Regions from separate parts of the Homo sapiens genome. Here region 2 is linked to region 1. The links are contacts of gene promoters, found by promoter capture Hi-C in human tissues and cell types (Jung and others, 2019). All regions are on one chromosome and are shown on one strand. The core of a region is centred on a gene start or on the middle of the fragment in contact, and the rest is flanking DNA. Distances in the headings are between cores, read along the strand shown. Region 1 holds the start of LDLRAD3 (low density lipoprotein receptor class A domain containing 3). Region 2 overlaps TRIM44 (tripartite motif containing 44).

The links. The method cuts DNA at HindIII sites, captures the fragments that hold promoters and counts their contacts. A contact is called where the count stands out against the background at its distance.
Region 2: a contact is called between a fragment that was not itself captured here and the fragment with the promoter of LDLRAD3 in region 1, in 1 of the 25 tissues and cell types used here (mesendoderm cells).

Annotation. Positions count from the first base shown.
Region 1 is chr11:35,942,671-35,945,524 of GRCh38, reverse strand. It overlaps LDLRAD3 (low density lipoprotein receptor class A domain containing 3), which reads right to left and starts at 1,463. Exons shown (of 6, transcript NM_174902.4): 1 at 1,381-1,463. The coding sequence starts at 1,426. RefSeq lists a silencer at 1,113-1,552. The HindIII fragment of the contact is 6,577 bases long and covers 1-2,854 here.
Region 2 is chr11:35,800,168-35,803,021 of GRCh38, reverse strand. The region is part of intron 4 of TRIM44 (tripartite motif containing 44); the gene reads right to left. Among named protein-coding and RNA genes, the nearest start is that of TRIM44, 140 kb to the right of the region's middle. The HindIII fragment of the contact is 4,427 bases long and covers 1-2,854 here.

The sequences.
Region 1 (2,854 bases), core at 214-2,713:
GTGGACTAATTTAAGGGCACTCTCACCCAGACCTGGTTAAAAATCCACAGCAGTCACCAGGAGGTCTAGTCCCTCCCTGGAAGCCCAGCAAACCCATAAGCATCTAAATGGGGTATCAGAGGAGTGGAGATGATGTCATGGGTCTGAGAGCAGGAAAGGCTGCCCAGTGGGCTGTGAGGATGCCCAGGACCAGGGACATCAAGGAAGAGAGGAGATATCCCTTTAACGCATTCATAACTCCAAGGCACAGCTAAGAATGAAGTGAGCCTCAACTTAGCAAACCCACAGGCCACCAAAGACACCTCGACAGCCAAGCTGCTAGAAGCACTTGGCAAAATAGGGCAGCTATTGGACATGTGGATGGCACAAACACCAGGCAGGCAAGATTCTGCTGAAGAAAGTTCACTGGGCCCTGTCACCCACATTCTAGGCATCAGATGCCCAGAAATAAACGTCAAGGGGCCAAGGGCGGGCCCAGTCCAGGAGGGACAGCTGACAGCTGTGGGCGGCGGGCAGGGGCAGAGGAGGAAGGGCTCCCAGGCTGGAATTCGGATCATGCCCACATCAGCAGAAAAGTTCCTGGGAACAGCACGCTGTCTGGAAGGGAAAGAGGCTTGCTGCGGTCCAGGCCCCGGGATGCACACGCGGTGGTGATGCCAGGTTCAAAGGGCCGCCGGATGAAGCCCCGTGTCCTCTCCCAGGGCCCCTCGCCGGTCAGGGCGCCCATCGCGGGGCAAGTAGGGTGGTCAGACGTCTTAAATAAAGCTTCGGTTCCCAGGATCAGTGGGGAAAAATGAATTCCCAGATCCGGCCTTGCTTCAACTCACTTTACCCAAACCAAACAGTCCCAGAGAGGAATGAAAGGAAGCAGCTTTGCTACTCCCTCCGCGGTGCAGGTGGGGAAACTGAGGCACGGAGTGCACGCCAGAGACTCGGGAAGAGGCCCAGAGGAGGCTAACGCAGCCGCGCGCGACCAGGCGTCTGGGAAGATGAGACCAGGGAAGAGTTCTCTCCTCTCCTCTCCTTTCCTTTCCCCGCCTCCGTTCCTCAACACACACAACACACACACAGCCACACTCGAGCTACGCCCAATCGGGGCAGCCGCCGGGCTCCCCAGACCCGGACTGCACACAGAGCCCCGCCCGCGCACACAGCACAACACGACCCGGCGCGCACGCCCACACAATAGGACGGCTCGCACCCCGCGGCGGCCCCTCGGCAGGGTCCGGGCCAGCCCGGCGCCGGGGTCCGCCCTCCGCGCTCACCCACGCCCGGAGAGCGGCCCGCGCCCGGGAGAGGACGCGATCGCACCCGGCCGCTGCGCCCCGCGCCCCGCGCCCCGCGCCCCGCGGGAAGTTCGCCGGCCGCCCCCCGACTCACCCGCGGCGCTGCTCAGCAGCAGGCACAGCGGCCCCAGCAGCCACATGGCGCGGCCGCCGCTCCCGCTGCCCGGCGTCGTTGCTGCCCCCGCGGCCTCGGCGCTGACCCCGCCCCTCGCCGCGCCGTCCCCGCCCTCCCGCCTGGCCCTCCTCCCTCCCGCCTTCCCCGGGCCCGGCCCCGGCCCGGCTCCGCTAAGTTTTGCAAGCGCCTGGGCTGCGCGTGGCCACCCGCATGTTACCCTGGGTGTCCTGACTCCGAGGGGCCGCCGAGCGCGGCGGAGGGTTCAGCCTTTCGGTCTCTCAGCCTTTCAGCCTCCCAGGTCTGGCCGCGAGGATCTTCTAACAGCCTGGGCTCTGTTCTCTGCTTCCTTTTGTCCCTCTCATTTCTGCCTTTGCTTCCACACCCAGCGAGATGCAGCGCCCAGACCAAAACTTGAGTTCTTTACTCAAACTACAAAGTGAGTTTACTACCGAGAGAGAAAAAGTTAAAATAAAGGGTCAAATCTTATGAGAAAATTGTAGTATATTTTTAGTAGCGAGTGTGGAATACCAGTGCTTCTCAAACTTTAATATGCATCCGGCACACTTGACGATCTTGTTAAAATACTGACTCTGGTTCAGTAGATCTGGCGTGGAGCCTGAGATTCTGCATTTTTAACAACATGGTGGCTGATTCCAAGGCTGATGATCCGGGAGCCACCGGTAAGAGCAGCTGACACCTACCATGCACACAGCGTGGACCACATGAGTTATTTTGTCTGCATAGTGTCCACCTTGACCTGTTGAACGTTTGGGACCCAATTTGGAAAAAATAAAATTAAAAAAAGGAAAAGGTCATGAAAGGCAGATACCCAAATGCAAAAAATATAGCTGCACCAATGCACTTGCTTCCAGAGGGCACTGGTGAAAAGCCCCAAAAGACTTAGATGGTGGAAGAAGGGGATGACACTTCTGTGCTCCACTCTCTCTGATCCCCCACCCAAAAAAAGCAAAAGACTAACGCAAATAATTGCCAAAAACTGGAAACAACTCAAGTGTCCATCAATTGATAAATGGATCAATAAATTAAAACTTTTGGGGGCAGTGGGACTGTTCTAATCTTGATTATAGAGGTAGTTACACAACTGTATACATTTGTCAAAACAATAGAACTGCATCCCTAAAATCCACCCCTCAAAAGGGTTGAGTTTATTTACACAAACTCCACCTGGCTGAAAGAAAGGGGAAGGTATGGGTACAGGGGCAGTTATAAAAGGGATGCCTGCGTCAGATTTTGGGATGCCCTGGAGACACCCTCAAGGGTGTTAAGATTCAATTACTTTACTCTGTAATTGCGTGCTGTAGTCTGGAAACATAAAGGCTAAAAAGGATCAGGTCAAAATTTAAAAATACCAATGATTGTTCAAGGTAATGAGAAAATGTGATGTGAGGGAGGAAAGGTTAAGTTCCATAGTTCATAGTACACATGGAAAATA
Region 2 (2,854 bases), core at 131-2,630, 140 kb after region 1:
GTTACCCTTCTTCCTCAACCCACCTTCCTTCTTATCCTGAATAAAAACCTGCCTCCTCCTGCCTTTCCCTCAAATGTTCCTAGCTCTGGCAGCTGAAACATTACATTCCAGAACAAGTGTGTTCCTATCCCCAAATACCCTTCAAATATCTGGAGAGCAACAGTATCCTGCTTTGCTCACTTGGAGAGTTTTTTAAATGACAACCCAGACCTAATGAAATACAGGTACTAACTAGAAAGGCTGAGTATCACTCTGACCCTTCTAGGTGGCAGGTCTCAAGAAAAGTCATGCCTGCCAAACACTGGGGAGAACAAATACGGAGTGAAGTTTAGTTAACCGGCCTTAGCTCGGTCACTGATCTAGTTTGAGGGTACTGCTGTATCTAAAAGTGGTGGCCTTAAAACTGGGGTATGGATACCCTTGTGGTATGTAATTACTTTCCAGGAAGTATTTGGGCCTGGGTAGTTTTAAGAAAATTAATGTCCAAATCCTTAACTTCCATATATACTGCTTCCTAAAACTTACCTTCTCAGAAACATGCCTGTGCTCTGTAAGGTTCTTGTTTCAGCCACTCCCACTTTACAGATCACCATACTCCCACACTTCCGCAGAAATGCTACTCTCACTCACCCTTCTGAATCTTAGCATGTAACAATTTTAGAATGTCTCCCTTAGAGGAGTCCTATGAGAGAACCGCAAGCAATAGTAAAGGAGACAATCTCTTTTTTCATTCAGGCAGGAAACTCTTGGCAAGGCTGTGTGTTTTATCTATCTATCCATCGATCTAACACTTCAAATTCAAAAGTGAGGTGGTTATCATGAGGTGTGTGCTAATGTTTATTTGTATTGAAAAAAATGAAATCAGACTTAATCTGACAGAAAGCAAGTCTGATTTGGCTGGATGGTTTGACCACCAAAATTGGCTTTGCCAATTAGATTATATAGTGCACCTTTGCTTGTAAATTTAATAAGCTAAATTCACAGTGCCAAAGTTTTGACAAAAATATATATAAAAACTCATATAAACTACACAATATGTCAGTGAGCACACCCTTAGCAACGATTTACACTTGATACTATGATTTCAGGAATTAATTTAAAAACGGGCAAAAAGGCACATACTTTTAAAATTTCTTTTAGGGGATGTAAAACAAAAAAGTTTAGCTAAAGGAACTGGGAGCTCCTAAATTCTGACCAGGAGGATGGTGTGAAATTTAACACTTTCTTGGTTGTGGGTAGGGGATGGGGTGACAGAATGAGACTAAGGCATTCCAGTAAGCAGAATGCTGTATCCCTTCTCTGAGTTGGGCTTACTGTCTGATGTGGTGCCTGTGAAACTGAAATGTCAGAGGCATGCCATAAGCTCCACATTCAGACCCTAAACACCTGCTGATAAAATGATTATATTTTATCATAATCATTTTACAGTGTTTCACTGTGACCATTTTTTAGTTAGGCTGCATATATAGGCAGCTTAGCTTTTTGGCTTCTGTCCCCAGAGCTTTAGGGGCATAAAGGGGAAGTTAATAAATCAGGTAGCAGGCATTCTGACTTTGCAAGTTTAATAGTTTCTTTTCCTAAGCATATAGTACAACTTAATGTGACTTGGCATCACTCATGTCTTCTGAGTTCTTGGTTATCTATTAATTGATTATTGCTGTAAAAGGATTATTTAACTCAGGAGGATGGTGGAATTAAGAGGTATTGACAAGGAACGAAGGCTAGAGTCAGCTGAAATTCAAAAAGATAGATTTAATATTCTCCAAAAATTACACTGCCTGGGCATTGTACAAGGAGCCAATTGGGAAGTCTCACACTTTCAGTATCTGAGGAAGTGGTTGCCTAGTTGCAGTAAATATGCGATCAGCACTGCTGGGGAGACAGACTAAACACTCGGATCCAGGGACCTTTCTTTACTAGACAGAGCGAGTTGCCTTCTTTGTCCCCTCTGTCCCACACTCACCTGCCCCAACAGCCTGAGCTGAAAATAAGGAGGTTACTGTGCTTTAAGGGATCTGAACTTTACAAAATAAAGTAAAATGTCCTTGGTCTATTTTGGGCTAACTGAGAAAAACATGATGAAAATACCAGAGTTCTAGTCCTGGTTCTGCTGTGTGACTCTAGGACCCAGTATCCTTATCTGGGAAATTAGGATGCCTTGCATTTTAAGCAAAGTTTAGGAAAACTCCAAACCAGACAAAAACTAAGAAAGCTTCCCTCCAACATATAGACTTGCTGAGCTAATTAATTTGCTCTCATTCATACAGCTGTCTCTCTTTGCTTCCTGTGCCCCTCTCTATCCCATCACCACAATCTGAAGGATGGCCTAAATGTTCCAAGTCCTTTCACCTCTTTCTGGCTGGGCCCAAATACTGGGTTGATGCCCGGTACTGAGAGGTGAAGCCAGCTGGACCTCCTGGGTCGAGTGGGAAGTTGGAGAACTTTTCTGTGTCTAGCTAAAGGATTGTAAATGCACCAATCAGCATTCTGTAAAAACGCACCAATCAGTGCTCTGTGTCTAGCTAAAGGATTGTAAACACACCAATCAGCACTCTGTAAAAATGCACGAATCAGTGCTCTGTGTCTAGCTAAAGGACTGTAAGCACAACAATCAGCAGGATGTGGGTGGGGCCAAATAAGGGAATAAAAGCTGGCCACCTGAGCCAGCAGCAGCAACCCACTCGGGTCCCCTTCCACAGCATGGAAGCTTTGTTCTTTCGCTCTTCATAATAAATCTTGCTGCTCGCTCACTCTTTGGGTCTGTACCACCTTTAAGAGCTGTAACACTCGCCGTGAAGGTCCGTGGCTTCATTCCTGAAGTCAGCAAGACCACAAACCCACTGGAAGGAAGAAA